7 separate regions of the Homo sapiens genome follow, and all the other regions are linked to region 1. The links are contacts of gene promoters, found by promoter capture Hi-C in human tissues and cell types (Jung and others, 2019). All regions are on one chromosome and are shown on one strand. Each heading gives the region's core, a stretch centred on a gene start or on the middle of the fragment in contact. The rest is flanking DNA. Distances are from core to core; before and after follow the strand shown.

Region 1 (2,772 bases), core at 71-2,570:
CTCCCAAGTAGTTGGGACTACAGGCGCCCGCCACCACGCCCAGCTAATTTTTGTATTTTTAATAGAGGTGGGGTTTCGCCATCTTGGCCAGGCTGGTCTCAAACTCCTGACCTCGGTTGATCTTCCCTCCTCGGCCTCCCAAAGAGCTGGGATTACAGGCGTGAGCCATCGCGCCCAGCTAATTTTTGTATTTTTAGTAGGACAGGGTTTTGCCATATTGGCCAAGCTGGTCTTGAAATCCTGGGCTCAAGTGATCCACCCGCCTCAGCCTCCCAGAGTGTTGGGATTACAGACATGAGCCACTGTGCCCGACCTAAGACTTTGCTTTCTATTCTTTTTGGGTGTATACCCAGGAATAGAGTTGCTCATAGGGTAATTCTGTTTAACTTTTTCCATCTCTACACAAAATACAAAAAATTAGCCAGGCATGATGGTGCACACCTGTGGTTTTAGCTACTCGGGAGGCTGAGGTGGGAGAATCACCTGAGCCAGGGAAGTCGAGGCTGCAGTGAGCCGTGATCGCACCACTGCTCTCCAGCCTGGGTGACAGAGCAAGACCCTGTCTCTTAAAAACAAACTTTTTGGGTTTTTTGTTTTACATAGCAGTGGCACTATTTTACAATCCCACCAAAATGCACCAGGTTAAACTTCCCATTAAGACGTGGGCCTACTCCACCAGACTACAGAGTTGCCCCATCCCAGCCTTGTTCCTCGTTTGTCTGTTAAAATGCACCCTCTAGCTGGTATACAGTAGGCGCTCAATATTTGTTGAACAAATGAGTGAACGTGGACCTGGTCATTAGACTGATGACAAGAGTCGAGGTTGGGGAGATTAAGGCGTTTCTTGAGAGCCAGCTGTATACCAGGGCGAGGGGATTTTTAAAGACTGTGAACGGAGTAATTCAACCATGAGTTTCACCTGGCCCAGGTTTAAGGCCACCTCCCCGCAGAACTCTCCTCGTCCAGCAGAGGGCGCCTTAAGGTGATATGCTAACGAAAGGAAATAATATGCAAATGAGTAATAGCGGGCCCCGCGGGGCTTTTTTGGTCAGGCGCGCCGTGGACAGCCCTGGCGCCGCAGGGGCCTGGGGCTCAAGATGGCGCCGCTACAGCCGCCGAAGGTCGGGCGGCGGCGCTGGCGAGGCTCCCGGAGACCGCAGGCAGGGCAGCCCCTGCCCTCCTTACTTCCTCCCGCGGCCGTCTGTCCCGGCCCAGGGGTCCGTCACCAGCCTTGGTCGCGCAGGAGCAGGCGTTTCTGAGCAGGCGCGCTGCGGGCAGCCCCTCCCGGGGTCCCTTGCGGCGGCGTCCCGAGGGCCTCCGGGGGCCTCGGAGCAAGATGGCGGCGGCGGGGTCCGTGAGGCGCGGGCGGCGGCGACCGCGGCGCCAGTGAGGGGGCCCTGGGGCCCGGGCGGCTCCGGGCCGGGGCCCCGCCGCGGGACGGACCATGCTACGCTCCACTGGCTTCTTCCGGGCCATTGACTGCCCCTATTGGTCTGGGGCGCCCGGGGGGCCCTGCCGGCGGCCCTACTGCCACTTCCGGCACCGCGGGGCCCGGGGCTCCGGCGCGCCCGGTGACGGCGGAGAGGCGCCCCCCGCAGCAGGTAATGCCCGCCCGCCTGCTTGCCTTGGGCTCGGCTCCCCTGCCCGGGTCTGGACCCCACCCCGGTCCCGCCCGGGGTCCCCGTTCTCGGCCCAGCCTCCTCCCCACACGTTCGCGGGCGACGGTTTTCCCAGTCGGGACCGGAACCACCCACCCTGGGACCCGGTGCAAAGCACTAGATGTCCCTAAGCCTTCGTCTTCACGAGTGTGAAATGTCAACTAGGAGGACGCGTCCTGCCAGGGCTGTCTAGAGGGCGGAGTGCGAGCGCATGTTGAGTACCGGGCACCGGGCCTGACACAAGGGGGCTCGGGAGACGGGCGCGGCCGGCGCTAGGCAGGTCCTGGACTCCTCCTGCCCCTGATTGGCGCCCGCCGCTTCCCGGACCCCATGTGCTTGTGGCCGCCCTTGTTTATTTCCATGACGTTTCCTCCGGCCGCGCCTCTGGCAGCGGCCACCTCAGTCTCCAGTCGTTGAGTTAGGATGGTCCGAGGATCGTCTCTTGTGTTTGTCGAGCCCTGTGTCCAGCATGACTGGCAGGGAGGAAGTCAAAGCTTACTCGAGTGGGCTCCGAGGAATTCCATGCTTTTGGTCGGGCAGAGGACGTTGGTGGACTCCACCTCACAGCGTCATGGTGGTTTTCATCGTCATGGCAGCGTTTCTTGGAGGAGATGTGGGATTTGGATTGGAGAAAAAGAGGGACATCGCAAGGAAAGTCGTGGAGGGAGGGTTATCGAGTGTGATGTCATTCAGACTCCCCTGTTACCTCTGTCCCTTGATAGTGGCTCTCTGCTTCACCCAGCCCCTGACTTCCTTCGTCCCAGATTTCCTCATTGGGCGTGAGTTTCAAGCACTGTTTTTACTTTAACCATGAAACAGTCTCAGCTCAGAACCTTTTCCTGCAAAAGAGAAACATCTTCTCTAGGATTTAAGAATAGGTTTATTTTCCTGTTTTGCCAGAAAAGGTAGCATTTTTTTCTGATTTCCCTGATAAGTGTGCTTGGGACACCTGCACCTGTGGGCGGTTGTTTGCAGGTGGACAGATGCAAGCAATCACTTGTCAGCTCCCCACAGCCCAGCGTCTTCGCTGTGTTTGAGGCGGGGGATTCAGAGCTGCGTACGATGCCGGCTGTGCTCTCAGGGACCTGCCGACAGCTGTGCCTACAGATCCCGT
Region 2 (2,772 bases), core at 180-2,679, 460 kb after region 1:
TCCATGTTGGCCAGGCTGGTCTCGAACTCCGGACCTCAGGTGATCCGCCCACCTTGGCCTTCCAAAGTGCTGGGATTACAGGCGTGAGCCACCGCGCGTGGGCCAGGCATTCTTAACAAGGGGCCTGGTGAGGATTCAGAACTGTGAATTTGCTTGGAATAAAAAAATATATATGTCTTTGTTGTCACCAGCATCTTATGGAAAATTAGCCCTTCATTCAATTCTTAGCGTAGGCTGGGTGCCGTGGCTCCCAGCACTTTGGGAGGCTCAGGTGGGAGGATTGCTTGAACTCAGAAGTTCGAGACCAGCCTGGGCAACAGGGCAAGACCCCCATCTCTACTAAAAATACAAAAACTAGCCAGGCATGGTGGCGCACACCTGTGGTCCCAGCTACACAGGACACTGAAGTGCCAGAATCGCTTGAGCCTGGGAGGCACAGGTTGCAGTGATGAGCCAAGATGGCACCACTGCACTCCAGTCTGAGCGACAGAGGCAGACCCTGTCTTAATAAATAAATAAAAAATTCTTAGCATAGACAACAAAATACGGCAGTATTAGCAGGACCTGTAACTTTTCACCAAGCGGAATCACAGATGTTTCCTAGCTATGGTGCAGGGGCTGCAGACGTTTCCGTATCATCAAAGCCTCATTTCCACTCCTCACTCCTTCCAAATCACAGTCGCAATTAGACCTGCCGCTAGATCGCGTTCATAAGGGAAGCACTTAGATTACTAAGTCGCCAATCAGGTTTCAAGACAATCTTTTAATAACTGCCTCTCCGTGTAACTGATTTCCTTGCAATTCTATGGATTTTATTCCATGCATTTAATAACTTTATCTGAGCAGAGGTCCGCAGGCTTCAGCTGATCCCAAAAAAGTCCCTGGAGCAGGACAGGCTCTGCGAGAGGCCCTTACCTCCCAGGGGTGGGGAGGGAGGTGGAGGGTCCAGCAGGGTGGCGTGGATGTCCTGGGTCCTGTTCCTTCCCAGGCCCGGCCCTGTGACCTCGAAGACCCTCAATGGGCCTCAGTTTCCCAGCCTGTCAGGCAGGCCCCGCTCTCTCCAGGGCATCTCAAGAGCAGCCTCGCGGGCCGTGCCCTGGTCTCGGGGACGTGAATGGGGCCCCTCCAGCCTCCACCCCGAGCGCCTTCCTGAGGCTGGAGGCTTGCGTCATGACCTACCGGGCCTCGGTTTCCCCGACTGTACTCTGGACGCAATAACGGCGACCGTTCATCGCAAGCCGGGCGGGGAGCCCGAGGAGCGGCCGGCTCGGAGAAGCCCGGAGAGGACCGCGGCCACGACGCCGGCACCGACCCCCGACGCCACCACGACACCCGAGGCTCCCACGGCCCCAGACCCGCGCGGCCCCACACCCGCCGCCGGTGCCGCGCTCACCTGACAGCACCGCCATCTTGGCCTCGGCCTTCAGACAACCTCTGAGGTCCGTTCTCCTTAGCGCTCCGGGTTCCCGGGGCCGCCGCCCAAAGCGGCTCGGAGCGCATGCGGAAACCGGAACCTGGAGCCGGGAGGTTCCGCTGCGCTTTCGGCCTCCGTGGTCGTGTTGCGCCGTGCACCCCCAGATCACCCGAGGCGGAAAGGTCATCGGAGTGCGCACGTGGGGGCCGCGGGTCTGCGGCGGACCGACAAAAACAGAGGCGACACTCATTTTCTTGTTATTCCAGGAGGGCAAAAGTCACCACGCGTCCCTGGGTGGGCTCGAACCACCAACCTTTCGGTTAACAGCCGAACGCGCTAACCGATTGCGCCACAGAGACGACACTGCGCTCCGGCGCCCTGGGAGACCTTACAAAGGATGTGGGGCCTGCTGACGCGAAACGACTGCGCCTGCGCAGGGAAGGCGCAGCGCGGGACGGAGTCCCGGCGAGAGCGACTCTGCCGCCCAGCCGAAATAGCTCAGTTGGGAGAGCGTTAGACTGAAGATCTAAAGGTCCCTGGTTCGATCCCGGGTTTCGGCAGAAGTTTTAGCGCCTCTTGCGATCACTGATGTCTTTCGTTCAGGATTGGTCCAGCTGCCTCGCAGCTATCCCGGACCCCTTACCGCAACATCACCGCATTCTGCAGAGGAGTCGCCGCGATGTGGACTCATCCCAAAGTAAGGGGGCTCAGACCTCACAACCCCAAAGCCTCCTCTTCCCACCCCTAAGAGGTCATAATTTCAGCTCAAACTTCCCCCTTCCCTGACACACCCTCGATTTTCCATCTTGCTTAAATTGATAAGTTTACAACCAGTACTAATGATATAAAAACTAACACTAAACACCCAAACTAGCAAAACAGAGTTTGCAGAACGCTTTCTGCATGCATATCATTTAATTTTCACAATTCCACTGGAGGTTTTGTCTGCCTGTTTTATGATTACAAAAACAGAGGCAAAGGCCGGTGCGGTGGTTCACGCCTGTAATCCCAGCACTTTGGGAGGCTGAGGCAGGCAAATCACCTGAGGTCAGGAGTTCAAAACCAACCTGGCCAATATGGTGAAACCCTGTATCTAAATCCCAGCTACTCGGGAGGCTGAGGCAAGAGAATCACTTGAATCCGGGAAGCGGAGGTTGCAATGAGCTGAGATCGTGCCACCGCACTCCAGCCTGGGCGACAGAGTGAGACTCCATCTCAAAAAAAAAAAAAAAAGAAAAAAGAAAAAGAAAAAGTAAAGAAAACAGAGGCTCAAATTAGGTGAACACAGGTGACTAGCAAGACTGGGGGCCCCTTGAGGACCACAACAAGTGTTTACTGAATTCGTGCCATGGGCTGGG
Region 3 (2,772 bases), core at 154-2,653, 430 kb before region 1:
TAAGCCTCAGTTTCCCCTTCTGTAAGCTCTGCCGCCCAGGCTGGAGTGCAGTGGCACAATCTCGGTTCACTGCAAGCTCCACTTCTCAAGTTCACACAATTTTCCTGCCTCAGCCTCCCGAGTAGCTGGGACCACAGGCGCCCACCACCAAGCCCGGCTAATTTTTTGTATTTTTAGTAAAGACGGGGTTTCACCGTGTTAGCCAGGATGGTCTCGATCTCCTGACCTCGTGATCCACCCATCTCGGCCTCCCAAAGTGCTGGAATTACAGGCATGAGCCATTGTGCATGGCCGCGTCCGGCAAATTTTTAAAAAATTTTTGCAGAGACAGGGTCTCACTATGTTGCCCAGGCTGGTCTCAAACCCTAGGTTCCAGTGATCCTCCTGCCTCGGCTTCCACCTTCCTAAGTGCTGGGATTACAAGCATGAGCCACCGGCGCCCAGCCTCATTACTTCCATGTTAGAGATGGGGAAACCGAGGCTGAGAGGTGGAGTCACGTGTCCCGTTCCCACTCCGCCTGTCCTCAACCCTCCCCCACTGTCTCTCCCTGCAGGTCAGATCCGTGCCCACCTGCTGCCCTCCAAGGCCTGCCGCCTCCGGACCCCTGGGTCCCTCTCCACCAACCCAGAGCCCCTGCCCCCACCCCTGCCCAAGAAGATCCTAACCCGGACCCAGTCACTGCCCACCCGCAGGACCCTCCATCCCAGCTCCATCCAAGTACAGCCGCCTCGGAGACCCTTTCTGGGGTCCCACAGTGTGGACAAGAGCCAGGCTGCAGTGGGACCAGCCTGTCTCCCTGCAGAGCTGACCTTTGGCCCGGCTGACGCCCCACTGGGCCTCTCCCTCCGCGATCTGCACAGCCCGGAGGCTGTGCACACTGCACTGGCTGCGCGGCAGCTGCAGGGCCTCCGTACCATCTATGCCCGGCTCCGTGCCCGGCTCATGGGGGGCCACCCCGGGCCCTGCCACCCCGGCCACAGCTTCCGCCTCCTAGACAGCTCACCCTGCGCAGAGAGCGGGGACGCCCTGTATTACCGCGTGGTGCGCGCGCACGAGGACGCCTGGCACATCCTGGTCGCCAAGGTGAGCCCCACAGCCCCACCCTCTCTGAGGTGTCCCCAGTGCCCCATCTTAGACATAACCCAGGGCTTGTTTCATTTGGCCTTTCTGTGAGTCAGTTCTCACACTGCTGTAAAGAAATACTGGAGCCGGGCGCGGTGGCTCACGCCTGTCATCCCAGCACTTTGGGAGGCCAAGGCGGGCGGATCAGCTGAGGTCAGGAGTTCAAGACCAGCCTGGCCAACATGGTGAAACCCAGCCTCTACTAAAAATACAAAAATTAGGTGTGGTGGCGGGCGCCTGTAAACCCAGCTACTTGGGAGACTGAGGCAGGAGAATTGCTTGAACCCGGGAGGCAGAGGTTGCAGTAAGCCAAGATTGGGCCATTGCACTCCAGCCTGGGCAACAGAGTGAGACTCCGTCTCAAAAAAAAAAAAAAGAAAAAGGCCGGGCACAGTGGCTCACACCTGTAATCCCAGCACTTTGGGAGGCCGAGGCGGGCAGATCACGAGGTCAGGAGATACAGACCATCCTGGCTAACACGGTGAAACCCTGTTTCTACTAAAAAGACAAAAAATTAGCCGGGCGTGGTGGTGGGCACCTGTAGTCCCAGCTATTTGGGAGGCTGAAGCAGGAGAATGGCATGAACCCAGGGGGCAGAGCTTGCGGTGAGCCGAGAACGCACCACTGCGCTCCAGCCTGGGCGACAGAGCGAGACTCCGTCTAAAAAAAAAAAAAAAGGCTGGGCAGCACAGTGGCTGACGCCTGTAATCTCAGCACTTTGGAAGGCCAAGGCGGGCAGATCATGAGGTCAGGAGTTCGAGACCAGCCTGGCCAACATAGTGAAACCCCCATCTCTACTAAAAATACAAAAATTAGCCGGGCGCGGTGGTGCGCACCTGAAGTCCCAGCTACTTGGAGGCTAAGGCAGGAGAATCACTTGAACCTGGGAGGCGGAGGTTGCAGTGAGCTGAGATTCGAAAATTGGGCTATTGCACTCCAGCCTGGGCGACAGAGTGAGACTCTGTCTCAAAAAAGAAAAACAAAAGAGAAGAAAAAAGAAAAGAAAAGAAAAAGGAATACTGGAGACTGGGTAATTTATAGAGAAAAGGGCCTTAATTGGCTCATGGTTCTGGTGGCTTCTGCTTCTGGGGAGGCCTCAGGAAGCTTCCAATCATAGTGGAAGGCGAGGCGGGAGCAGGCATCTCACACGGTGGGAGCAGGAGGAAGGGAGGGAGGAGGTGCTACTCACCTTTACACAGCCAGATCTCACGAGAACTCACTCGTTATCCCAACGACAGTGCCAAGGGAGATGGTGCTGAGCCATTCATGATAAACCACCCCCAAGATCCAAGTCGCCTCCCACCAGACCCCACCTCCAACACTGGGGAATGAGATTTGGTGGGGACACAGATCCAGACCATATTAGACTTGTTTATTTTGCAACTAACACGTGAATCAACGCAGTTAACCCAGGAAACCATGTTTCTAAAGTATGGGGCCATGGGTATGGCCTTGGAGCTCTTGTCAAAACCCCTCCCACACCTCTCTGGCCGGGGATCTGCTTTTGTGTTTTTTGTTTTGTTTTTTGTTTTTGAGACAGAGTCTCACTCTGTTGCCCAGGCTGGAGTGCAGTGGCGCGTTCTCGGCTCACTGCAACCTCCACCTCCCGGGCTCAAGCGATTCTCTCACCTCAGCCTCCGAAGTAGCTG
Region 4 (2,772 bases), core at 1-2,500, 410 kb after region 1:
AGGCGGGAGGGTCGCTTGAGCCCAGGAGTTCAAGACCAACCTGGACGACACAGAGAAACGCTGTTTCCACAAATAATCAAAAATCAAGGTCGGGCGCGGTGTTCACGCCTGTAATCCCAGCACTTTGGGAGGCCGAGGCAGGTGGATCACCTGAGGTCAGGAGTTTGAGACCAGCCTGGGCAACACTGAAACTCGTCTCTACTAAAAATACAAAAATTAGCCGGACGTGGTGGGGGGGCCCTCTAATCCCAGCTACTCGAGAGGCTGAGGCAAGAGAATCGCTTGAACCCGGGAGTGGGAGGCTGCAGTGAGCTGGGACGGAGCCATTGCACTCCAGCCTGGGCGACAGGATGAGACTCCGCCTCAAAATAATCAAAAATTAAAAAATAAAAGCGCAAGCCAGATGCCCACCACCACCCTGCCTGGAAAGGACCCAGCGACCTCCACCGCCCTTAAAATCTAAGGAGTCTAACGCAGCCCCTTATTCTAAGTCACGTGGGCTACAGACAGGGGCTACACCTTCCAACTAAGCCGCGGAAAAGTGAACAACGGGGGGCAGGTTGCAAATAAGCAAAAACCTCAACGTCTCTGGACAGTTTTCTGGGCGCAAGACCACACTCAGTTCCAAACCCGCGCGGAGACCGTGCCCGCCCACCGCCGCAGAGGCGCTTGGACCCCCGCCCCGCCGCCCTCACCCGGACAAGCCCCACCGCTGGCCCAGCCCCTGCCCGCGACCCCCGCGGCCGCCCTTACTAGGACATGTCCAGCAGCTGGTCGAGGTCCACGCCGCGGTAGGTGAACTTGCGGAAGGTCCGCTTCTTCTTCTGCTCTACTTCTGCCTGTGCGGGCGCGGATCGGGCGTCAGCGGGATCCCGACACCCATCTCCCGGGGCCACCGGGCCCGAGGACACCGCGGAAGACGCGCGGCGCCGCCGGGGACAGAAGCCCGACAGGGACACACCGCTTCGACCCGTCCCCGGGGATCACTCGCGGCTCCGGGTTACGAGGACCCGGACATGAAGGCCCGGACAGGCCTTCCCAGCCCCGCGTCGTCCCGACACCCACCAAGTCCGCCCCTCGCCCCAACATCCAGCCGCCTGCAGGGTCGGGAGCAAGCCGCCGTAGCCGCGGGGACGAACTGCGGCCCCCGCGAGACGGTCAGAGGTTGGATGGAGCCGGATAGGCCCGGCAGAGACGCGCCAAATCGCAACACTCACCATCTTGCCGGATCCTCAGAAGAGATCGCTTTGGTCCGCGCCTGCGCAGTTATCGCGAGACTGCCGGCATGTCCCGCCCCCTCGGCCGTGCGCGCACACGCGCTTCCGCTTTCCCGGCGGCGAACACGCGCCCTCTGCCGTCTGGAGGGCAAAACACAGGCTGCAGGGATTAGAGCAGCCGCCGCCTGAGGTCTGCAGAGCCGCTTCCTCCACGGAGTGGGACTTTGGACAAGTCGCCGCCCCTGTCTGAGCCTCGGGTTCGTGCTCCGTCATCTACACGATGGCACCCACATCAACAAGTATTTATGGAGCGCCTACCGTTTGCTCGTAGGTGCGGTTTGGCGGTTCAGGTCCCACTGTGGGAGGAACACGAGAATTCATTACAGATACTGGAGCAGGGACAGGGCCTCGCTGAAAAGAACCATTCCGGCTTTAACAGATAAAATTTTGTATATAAAGTTAGTAAGGACAACACAGTGAGACTGCCTCTCTACAAAAAAATACAAAAATTTGTGTACACACGGACATAAAAGAATAAAAAGTACAAAAAATTCCCAGCTACTCGGGAGGCTGAGCCTTCAGCCCAGGAGGTCAAGGCTGCAGTGAGCCGTGATCGCGCCAACGGCACTCCAGCCTGGGCGACAGAGCAAGACCCTGCCTCAAAAATAAAGTTAGGAATATCACTGGGTTTGTTAAGATATGTAAATGTAATGTGAATAATGATAGCTCAAAGAGAAGGAGTAACTAGAACTATGTAGGAGTGACTTTTTTTTTTTTTTGAGACAGAGTTTCACTCTTGTTGCCCTGGCTGGAGTGCAGTGGTGTGATCTCGGCTCACTGCAACCTCTGCCTCCTGGGTTCAAGCGATTCTCCTGCCTCAGCCTCCCAAGTAGCTGGGATTACAGGCACCTGTTACCGTGCCCGGCTAATTTTGTATTTTTAGTAAAGACACGGTTTCTCCATGTTGGCCAGGCCATGTTGGTCTCGAACTCCTGACCTCAGGTGATCCACCCGCTTTGGCCTCCCAAAGTGCTGGGATTACAGGCGTGAGCCACCGCGCCTGGCCTAGGAGTGATGTTTCTGTATCTTACTGGAATTAAGTATAAAGTTGAAGGTGACTATTAACTATGGATGTGGCACCTGGCTGGGCGTGGTGGCTTATGCTTGTAATTCCAGCACTTTGGGAGGCCGAGGCGGGCGGATCACCTGAGGTCAAGAGTTCAAGACCAAGCTGACCAACCCTAACTCTACTAAAAATACAAAAAATTAGCCAGGCGTGGTGGTGGGTGCCTGTAATCCCAGCTCCTTGGGAGGCTGAGGCAGGAGAACCGCTTGAACCCGGGAGGCGGAGGTTGCAGTGAGCTGAGATCGCACCACTGCACTCCAGCCTGGGCGACAGAGACTCCTTCTCAAAAAAAAAAAAAAAAAAAAAAAAGAAAAAGAAAAAAAAAAAGCACAAAACCTCTGGGAACCCGAGCTTAGCTGTGGCACTGTCCAGGGAGCTGAGCTCTCCCCAGCCGTCCCCACAGTCCCAAGGGAAGCCAATTACACTGTA
Region 5 (2,772 bases), core at 1-2,500, 320 kb after region 1:
TGTAGCAGCGGCTGAAGGCGCCCTGTGGGGAGGGGTCAGCAGATCAGTGGGCAGGTGTGCACGGGTGTGCAAGCTGGCAGCGCGTACAGAGGCACAGGGCAGCCAGGGACGCAGGCGCGTCCAGGTCTCTCCACACACACACCGGGGAAAAAACAACACACAGCTCCCACCCTCCCGCCTGGACACACAAGACATGATGCACACAAGAAGGCACAGAGACACAGACACAGACACATCCACGCCTGGTGCATAGAGGCCACGGACCAGAAGACAGCACCGGATGCACAACACCACGCCTGAATACGACACACAAACACGCAACGCCCAGACACAGAGTCACCATGCATGGACACACAACACAACACCCAGATACACAACGCAGCAACACACAAACACATGAATATACAATGTCTGGACACACAGTCACCACGTGTGGACACACAACACAATACCCAGACACAGCACAGGAACACACAAACACATGAACACACAACACCTGGACACACAGTACAACACATGGACAAAGACACAGATACAAACACATGAACACACAACTCCTAGACACACCACATATGAACACACAAACACACAAGCACACCACATGAACACACAACACCCAGACACACAACACAATGACTGGACACACAAAGGCATGACGCACAAACAACAGGTGAACAAGCAACACAACACCCAGACACACACACACACACACACACACACACACACGAACACCGCACAGCACCCAGACACTTGGAAGCAGCGGGCACAGACGCGGCACACTCAGACCCTCGCCAGGCTCGCACACACACCCAGGGGCAACACAGCGTCGCATCCCGAGGCCGAGCCGCACGCCCACACCCCGGACACGCAACCCACGGACACGACGCACAGCGCGCTCAACACGGTTCCCGCCATGCGAAACCCCGCACGGGAGGCCCCGCGGCTCCGGACGCGCGCCCGCTCCAGACCCCGCGCTCGCAGGGACGCGCCGCGTAGACCGCGCAGGATCGCCCGCGCGCCCCGGGACCCCAGCCCAGCCCGGTCCGGCCCCGTCGCGGACTCGGGGCGCGGGCCTCCCACCTTGCCGATCAGCTTCCCGCGCCTGTACACGCGGCCCGAGCCCGGGTCTCGCAGGAAGGCGGCGACCAGGGGGCGACTCCTGCGCCGCCGCCGCGGCCGGGGCTCCATCGCGCGGACTCTGGCGCAGCCGGGCCGAGACCACCGCGCTGCGGCCGCTCCGGGGCCGCTCTGAGGGCGCAGGAGCCGCCGGGGAGCGTTTTATTGGCCGCGGGGGCGGGGAGGGGGCGGAGCCCGGGCGCAGGTCCAGCCCGGGGAGGGGCGGGAGGTGCCCGGCCGTGGAGTGGGGGGCGCGTGAGCGGCGGGGACGCCGCGGCTGGGGAAGTTCCACGGACCAGAGCGCGCCCGAGTCCCGCACGCCAACCGGGCGCCAGGGGCCGCGCTCAGCCCGCGAGCTCCTCCGACCCTGCACACCCGGGCTGGCTGGGAACCGCTGATACGCCCGCTTTACCGAGCGGGAAACTGAGGCTCTCTCGCGCGTGGGGGGTTGGGGGCTTCCGGGGGCTTCTCCCCCACAGTGCGCTTGAGGTATGAGCCTCGACGTTCTGAATGTGTGCCATTTCGGGTCCTCCCTGCTGGCGGGTCCCTGGGGCCCACATGAAAACCTGGGGCTTGATGGCCCTGGGCACTGGGGAGCCACAGCAGAATTCGGAGCGGCAGAGAAGCCCAGCGTTTGTGATGCTGGGGCTGGTGGGGAGGGCGGTGAGGCCTGGGACAGGGACCCAGGAGGCAGGACCGGGGCTTGGGGACGCATGGGCTGGGGTCCTACAGTGTAGTGGATGTCCCATATGAGGGAGCTTCAGCCCGGAGAAGGGATGGGCTGTGTGGAGCAGCAGGTGGACCCTGGCTGGGGTTTGCACGGACAGCCAGGTGGGGACGTCCTTGAAATGGCGACCTCAGAGAGCATCAGAAACCTCAGAGAACTCAGAGAACAGCTGGGTGGGAAGACAGTGGGGGGCTTGAGACTCCCCCGGAATCGTGGGGGTGGTTGCTCCAAGCCCTGCCCCAGACTCAGGTGCACCCCTTTCCTGGTGAGGTCTTCCCTCACCCTTCCACCCAGCCTGGGACACAAAAACGGGCCTTGTCCCCATTGTACAGGCAAGACATTGAGACCCAGGGACGCAAAGTCGCTCAGTCAGCCCAGGAAAGGGCAGCGCTGGGTTTGAATCCCGGCAGCCGCCCCTGGACGCCTGCGGTATTAATCCCCAAATGTTACATAACACCAGGAATGGGGAGGGGTTACCAGGCTCCGTGGGGCTGGAATTTTCCAGGGACCAGATTTCGGAATCTGGCCCGGCCACACCACTAGGGACAGGAAACACCTTCTGAGCCGTCACGTGTCCACCTGGTGTCACGAATGGGGCCCCCGTGCATTGGACGGGGCTGAGCTCGGGCACCTTTGCGGGGTTTCTGGTCCCAGGGCCAGGGCGGAAGATTCCTGGCCAGCCTGGGGCCACCGGGTTGCAGCTGGGGAGCCCAAGTCCCCTGCTGATGAGAATCAGGTGAGGTGGCTGCAAGGTGGGCTGCTCGGGGCCCGAGTGTCTGAGCTGTCACACGACTGTCACCCTGGAATCCTCCAGGGGCAGAAAGCCAGTTCCTTGCTTTTTTTTTTGTTTGTTTGTTTTTTTGAAAGAGAGTCTTGCTCTGTCACCCGGGCTGGAGTGCCGTGGTGTGATCTTGGCTCACTGCAACCTC
Region 6 (2,772 bases), core at 205-2,704, 310 kb after region 1:
CCTGCTACTGCACTCCAGTCTGGGTGACGGAACAAGACCCTGTCTCAGAAAGAAAGGAGGGAAGGGCCGAGTGCTGTGGCTCATGCCTGTAATCCCAGCATTTTGGGAGGCCAAGGCAGGTGGATCACCTGAGGTCAGGAGTGCGAGACCAGGCTGGCCAACATGGGGAACCTCCTCTTTACCAAAAATACAACAACAACAAAAAATTAGCCGGGCGTGGTGGCGGGCACCTGTAGTCCCAGCTACTCGGGAGGCTGAGGCAGGAGACTCGTTTGAACCTGGGAGGCGGTGGTTGCACTGAGCCTAGAACACACCACTGCACTCTCGCCTGGGCAACAGAGTGAGACTCCATCTCAAAACAAAAACAAAACAAAACAAAACAAAACAAAAACGGGTGTGGTGGCTCACGCCTGTAATCACAGCACTTTGAGAGTCCAAGGCAGGTGAATCACGAGGTCAGGAGTTCGACAGCAGCCTGGCCAACATAGTGGAACCCCATCTCTACTAAAAATACAAAAATTAGTCGGGCGTGGTGGTGGGCGCCTGTAATCCCAGCTACTCCGGAGGCTGAGGCAGGAGAATCGCTTGAACCCCAGAGGCTGCAGTGAGCTGAGATCACAAAATTGCACTCCAGCCTGGGGTGCATTAAGGACACTCCATCTCTAAAAAACATATAAGTAAGATTTCACATGGATACAATCCATCAATCTTACTCAGGATTCCTCAGTTTAACTTGTGATCGTGTGTGTGAGTGTGTGAGATGTCTTTAGTCTCCTATAATTTGCTGGCCTGGGTAGATTCGTGTATCCACCATCATGACATGGAGCATTTCCATCACCATCAGGATCTCTTGCTGTTTGTGCACCCTCCCCGCACCCTCATCCCTAACCCTAATTCCATTTCTAAAATGTTACATAAACTTTTTTTGTTCTTTACACAGGGTCTTGCTCTGTTGCCCAGGCTGGACTCCAGTGGTGCAACTACAGCTCACTGCAACCTACATGAACTCCTGGGTTCAAGGCATCCTCCTGCCTCAGTCGCCCAAGCAGCTAGGACTACAGGTGTGCATCATCATCCTTGGCTTATTTATTTATTTATTTATTTATTTATTTTGAGACGTAGTCTTGCTCTGTCGCCCAGGCTGGGGTGCGGTGGCGCCATCTCGGCTCACTGCAAGCTCCGTCTCCCCGGGTTCACGCCATTCTCCTGCCTCAGCCTCCCGAGTAGCTGGGACGACAGGCACCCGCCACCACGCCCGGCTAATTTTTTGTATTTTTAGTAGAGACAGGGTTTCACCGTGTTAGCCAGGATGGTCTCGATCTCCTGACCTCCTGATCCGCCCGCCTCGGCCTCCCAAAGTGCTGGGATTATAGGCGTGAGCCACCGCGCCTGGCCTTAATTTTCTAATTTTTTATAGAGATGGGGTCTCACTATGTTCCCCAGGGTGGTCTGGAACTCCTGGGCTCAGGTGATCCTCCCACCTCAGCCAACTGAGTAGCTGGGACCACAGGCACACCCCACTATGCCCGGCTAATTTTTTTTTTTTTTTTTTTTTCCCGAGACGGAGTCTCACTCTGTCACCCAGGCTGGAGTGCAGTGGCGTGATCTAGGCTCACTGCAACCTCCGCCTCCGTGGTGAAAGTGATTCTCCTCCCTCAGCTCCCCGAGTAGCTGGGACTACAGGCGCCCGCCACCACGCCCGGCTAATTTTTGTATTTTTAGTAGAGATGGGGTTTCACCATGTTGGCCAGGCTGGTCTCGATCTCTTGACCTTGTGACCCGGCTGCCTCGACCTCCTTAAGTGCGGGGATTACAGGCGTGGGCCACCGCGCCCGGCCGGGACAGGCTTTTTTCACTCAGCGTAATTCTCTGGAGTCATCAGGAGTTTGAAAACTCCCCGTGGGACCCAGGTTGACCTACCTACCAGCACCCCATTTTTTCATAGATTGAGAACCAGCGCCTCAGTGTCCCCATCTGTATAGTGGGAGAGAAAAGGTCCCTGCTCCCGGGGCCTTGCCAAGGTGCAAGGAAGCTTTATGACGTCACACACAGTTACCACGGGCAACAGCCAATCCTGCTGGCCCCAGAGGTAGCCGCCCTTGGTCCCGCCCACGCCTTGCTTGCTTGCTGGTGATTGGAGGACGCATGATGTCACGTGCTCCCATAGACCAATGAGGAGGTGGTCTGGAGGCTGGGTTCAGCTGTAGCCTCAGCGTGGGAAAAAGGGTAAAACGGAACTTTGGGGCCGGGCGCTGGGGCTCACGCCTGTAATACCAGCACTTTGGGAGGCCGAGGCGGGTGGATCCCCTGAGGTCGGGAGTTCGAGACCAGCCTGGCCAACATGGTGAAACCCCGTCTCTACTAAAAGTAGAAAATTTATCCGGGCATGATGACGCCTGTAGTACCAGCTACTTGGGATCCTGAGGCACGAGAAAAATCTCCTGAACCAGGGAGTCGGAAGCTGCAGTGAGCCGAGAGCACGCCACTGCACTCCAGCCTGAGTGACAAGAGCGAGACTTTGTCTTAAAAAATAAAACTGAGCTTTGGAAATTCTTGCCAGGACAAGTTTTCCCTCTCTCAGGGTTAAATCAGTGGTTTCCAAAAAGAAAAAGAAGGAGAAGGAAGGAGGAGGAGAAAGAGGAAGAGAAGGGAGTAGGGAGAAGAAGGAAGAAGAAGGGAAGAAAGAAAAAAAAATCTTTGAGCCAGGGCTGGAGTGAATTCATGACCATTTCTTGAAGTTCCAACCCTTGTAAGCACCCAAAAAAGTGAGGC
Region 7 (2,772 bases), core at 102-2,601, 280 kb after region 1:
CACAGCCAGCCAGGGACAGGTCTGGTAGAAGAGGGGGGCAGGTAGACCCAGCCAGACAGGTTTATCACAAAAAACCCCACAGGTGCAAGGAAGGCCCCGAAGGACAGCTGGAGGAAGAGCCGCTGGGAAAGCGGCTATTTTTTTTTTTTTTTTTTTTTTTTGAGAGGAGTCTTGCTCTGTCAACCAGGCTGGAGTGCAGTGGTGCAATCTCGACTCACTGCAACCACCACCTCCAGGGTTCAAGCAATTATCCTGCCTCAGCTTCCTGAGTAGCTGGGATTACAGGTGCGCGCCACCACGCCTGGCTAATTTTTGTATTTTTAGTAGAGTCGGGGGTTTCACCATGTTGGCCAGGCTGGTCTCTAACTCCTGACCTCGTGATCCACCCGCCTCGGCCTCCCAAACTGCTGGGATGACAGGCATGAGCCACCGCGCCCGGCAAGGGTGGCTTTAGAGGTGGACAACGCCCGTTGCGGGGAAAGGCACCCCAGAAGAGGGTGGGGCTCCACATGGAGGGTTCTGGCTGGTGTGAGCCTGCCCTCGCCATGGAAGCACCACTGTGGTAGAGAGGTCTCTGGCTGGGGGCACAGAGACCGGGTCTGTGGCCTTGGGTGGGGCGGAGGAGGTGGCGTGGAGGAGGTGGCCTGATCCCAAAGCCGGGAGCCAGCCAGAGGGGAGCTAGGAGAGACTAGGGGAGAGGGACCTCAGGCCCTGGGGTGTGCATGATTGTGGAGCTGTCCCTGGCACAGAGGCTGGGGGTGGGGCAGGGGCCTGACCCTAAAGCCCACCTGATAGCAAGGGGTACTTGGGGACTGGGACCCCAGGCCCTGGGGGGTGCACCGTGGGGCGGGGGTTGGACCCTGGCACAGAGGCGGTGGGCGGGCAGGAGCCTGACTTCGAAGTCCAGTGGGATCGCGAGGGGGACTTGGAGAGGACCCCACGCCTTTATGCAGGGAGGTGGGGGTCCCTGGCACAAGGAAGCGGGCGTGGAGCAAGAGACCTCGCTTGGGGGCGACCCGGATCTCTAGGGGAAATTGGGGAGCGGGACCTCGGGCCCTGGGGCGCGCGAGGCAGGGACTCTCAGGCTTGGGGAGGGAGCGCTGTCCAGGCAGGGGCTGAGCCGCACACACCTGCAGCAGCGCCCGCACGTGCGGATGCGCCCGGGTTCCCGCCCGAGCGCCGGGCGGAGGCGGGGCCTGGACCACGTGCCCGGCGCCGGCCCCGCCCCGGCCCCGCCCCGCGCGCCTGCGCCCTGGGGGCCGCCCATTGTTGGGCCGCGGCGTGACGTCGCGGGGGCGGGGCCGGGGCGGGGCCGCGGGAGGCGGCGGGAGGGAAGGAGCGTCCCGCGCCGCCGCCGCCGCCTCGGCCGCCGAGGAGCCGCCGCCGCCGTCGCCGCCGCCGCCGAGCCGCAGCCAGAGTCGCTGCCGCCGCCCGGCCCGGCCCGGCCCGGCCCCGAGCAGCCCCGCGCCGCCGCCGCCCCGCCCGCCCGGCCCCCCGTGCCCGCCCCCGCCGCTGGATGCAGGCGGCCGGCGGCCCAGCTCGCAGAGGCGGAGGGCGGCGCGGGCGGCGGCGGCGGCGCGGGCGGCAGGAGCGCGGGCCCCAGCGCTAGCTCCCGCCATGCCCAGCTCGCTCGGCCAGCCCGACGGCGGCGGGGGCGGGGGCGGCGGCGGCGGCGGCGTGGGGGCGGCGGGGGAGGACCCCGGACCCGGACCTGCGCCCCCGCCCGAGGGCGCCCAGGAGGCCGCGCCCGCGCCCCGGCCGCCGCCCGAACCCGACGACGCGGCCGCCGCGCTCCGCCTGGCGCTGGACCAGCTGTCGGCGCTCGGGCTGGGGGGCGCTGGCGACACGGACGAGGAGGGGGCGGCCGGGGACGGCGCAGCGGCGGCGGGGGGCGCGGACGGCGGGGCGGCTCCGGAGCCTGTGCCCCCCGACGGACCTGAGGCCGGCGCGCCCCCGACCCTGGCCCCCGCCGTGGCCCCCGGGTCGCTGCCGCTGCTGGACCCCAACGCGAGTCCCCCGCCGCCGCCGCCGCCCCGGCCGTCGCCCCCCGACGTGTTCGCGGGCTTCGCGCCCCACCCCGCGGCCCTGGGGCCCCCGACGCTGCTGGCCGACCAGATGAGCGTGATCGGCAGCCGCAAGAAAAGCGTCAACATGACCGAGTGCGTCCCGGTGCCCAGCTCCGAGCACGTCGCCGAGATCGTGGGTCGCCAGGGTGAGTGGCCCTCGTCGGGGGTTGCTGTCCTGGGGGTCCCCGCACCGTCCGCCCCGGGGAAGGGGGTCGCCCGAGCCCAGCCCAGCCCGCGCCGGACGCCCCGCACCGGACACGCCCCGCGTGGGCTCCGGCCTCGGCCGCTGCCTTTGCGCCTTTGTCCTGCAGCCGCCGCGGGAGAAAGTTGGGCGCAGCCCGCGCTCCTCCCCTGCGCGCTCCGGCCCCGCCGCCGCCTTTGTCTGGGCCGCCTCCAGCCCGGAAAGGCTCCGGGGAGCCGCGCCGCAGCCCAGGCCCTCGGCCGCCCGCAGGGGCACCCCAGAGAGGGGCTCGAGGGCCCGGGGCTCCGGCCGGGCGGGGGGCGCCCCACACCCAGCACAGGCGGCGGGGCGGGGCAAGCGCAGGTTTAGGGGTGGCTTAGGGGGGCCGCCTGCAGGACCGGGAGAGAAGGCTGACAGTACAAAGAGCGCACGTCTCAGTCTCCAGCCTGGGGCCCTGACTGGGGTGGGGACGGGACCGGGCAGGAGAGGGTCCCTGCTCCACTCTCTGGCCCCGAGTCAGGGATT

What was found. The method cuts DNA at HindIII sites, captures the fragments that hold promoters and counts their contacts. A contact is called where the count stands out against the background at its distance.
Region 2: a contact is called between the fragment with the promoter of NDUFS7 here and the fragment with the promoter of REXO1 in region 1, in 1 of the 25 tissues and cell types used here (dorsolateral prefrontal cortex).
Region 3: a fragment that was not itself captured here is called in contact with the fragment with the promoter of REXO1 in region 1 in 2 of the 25 tissues and cell types used here (lymphoblastoid cells and spleen).
Region 4: a contact is called between the fragment with the promoter of RPS15 here and the fragment with the promoter of REXO1 in region 1, in 3 of the 25 tissues and cell types used here (aorta, dorsolateral prefrontal cortex and lymphoblastoid cells).
Region 5: the fragment with the promoter of PLK5 here is called in contact with the fragment with the promoter of REXO1 in region 1 in 3 of the 25 tissues and cell types used here (IMR-90 fibroblasts, lymphoblastoid cells and mesendoderm cells).
Region 6: a fragment that was not itself captured here is called in contact with the fragment with the promoter of REXO1 in region 1 in 1 of the 25 tissues and cell types used here (lymphoblastoid cells).
Region 7: a contact is called between the fragment with the promoter of MEX3D here and the fragment with the promoter of REXO1 in region 1, in 2 of the 25 tissues and cell types used here (dorsolateral prefrontal cortex and lymphoblastoid cells).

Annotation. Positions count from the first base shown.
Region 1 is chr19:1,847,031-1,849,802 of GRCh38, reverse strand. REXO1 (RNA exonuclease 1 homolog) reads left to right here and starts at 1,320. Exons shown (of 16, transcript NM_020695.4): 1 at 1,320-1,601. The coding sequence starts at 1,445. RefSeq lists enhancers at 853-932, 953-1,102 and a silencer at 1,123-1,592. The HindIII fragment of the contact is 7,366 bases long and covers 1-2,772 here.
Region 2 is chr19:1,382,564-1,385,335 of GRCh38, reverse strand. It overlaps NDUFS7 (NADH:ubiquinone oxidoreductase core subunit S7), which reads right to left and starts at 1,429. Exons shown (of 8, transcript NM_024407.5): 1 at 1,394-1,429. The coding sequence starts at 1,409. TRF-GAA1-6 (tRNA-Phe (anticodon GAA) 1-6) reads left to right here and starts at 1,902; the gene lies at 1,902-1,974. TRN-GTT2-6 (tRNA-Asn (anticodon GTT) 2-6) reads right to left here and starts at 1,773; the gene lies at 1,700-1,773. RefSeq lists silencers at 1,300-1,359, 1,610-1,749, 1,930-2,059. The HindIII fragment of the contact is 12,722 bases long and covers 1-2,772 here.
Region 3 is chr19:2,276,896-2,279,667 of GRCh38, reverse strand. PEAK3 (PEAK family member 3) reads left to right here. Exons shown (of 4, transcript NM_198532.3): 3 at 555-1,084. Among named protein-coding and RNA genes, the nearest start is that of PEAK3, 3.9 kb to the left of the region's middle. The HindIII fragment of the contact is 7,382 bases long and covers 1-2,772 here.
Region 4 is chr19:1,436,874-1,439,645 of GRCh38, reverse strand. It overlaps RPS15 (ribosomal protein S15), which reads right to left and starts at 1,250. Exons shown (of 4, transcript NM_001018.5): 1 at 1,218-1,250; 2 at 754-839. The coding sequence starts at 1,220. RefSeq lists enhancers at 1,007-1,226, 635-1,505. The HindIII fragment of the contact is 20,902 bases long and covers 1-2,772 here.
Region 5 is chr19:1,522,555-1,525,326 of GRCh38, reverse strand. It overlaps PLK5 (polo like kinase 5 (inactive)), which reads right to left and starts at 1,250. Exons shown (of 14, transcript NM_001243079.2): 1 at 1,081-1,250; 2 at 1-22. The HindIII fragment of the contact is 15,366 bases long and covers 1-2,772 here.
Region 6 is chr19:1,542,134-1,544,905 of GRCh38, reverse strand. No RefSeq gene overlaps it. Among named protein-coding and RNA genes, the nearest start is that of PLK5, 19 kb to the right of the region's middle. The HindIII fragment of the contact is 4,742 bases long and covers 1-2,772 here.
Region 7 is chr19:1,566,904-1,569,675 of GRCh38, reverse strand. MEX3D (mex-3 RNA binding family member D) reads left to right here and starts at 1,351. Exons shown (of 2, transcript NM_203304.4): 1 at 1,351-2,212. The coding sequence starts at 1,618. RefSeq lists silencers at 1,072-1,121, 1,162-1,351. The HindIII fragment of the contact is 18,806 bases long and covers 1-2,772 here.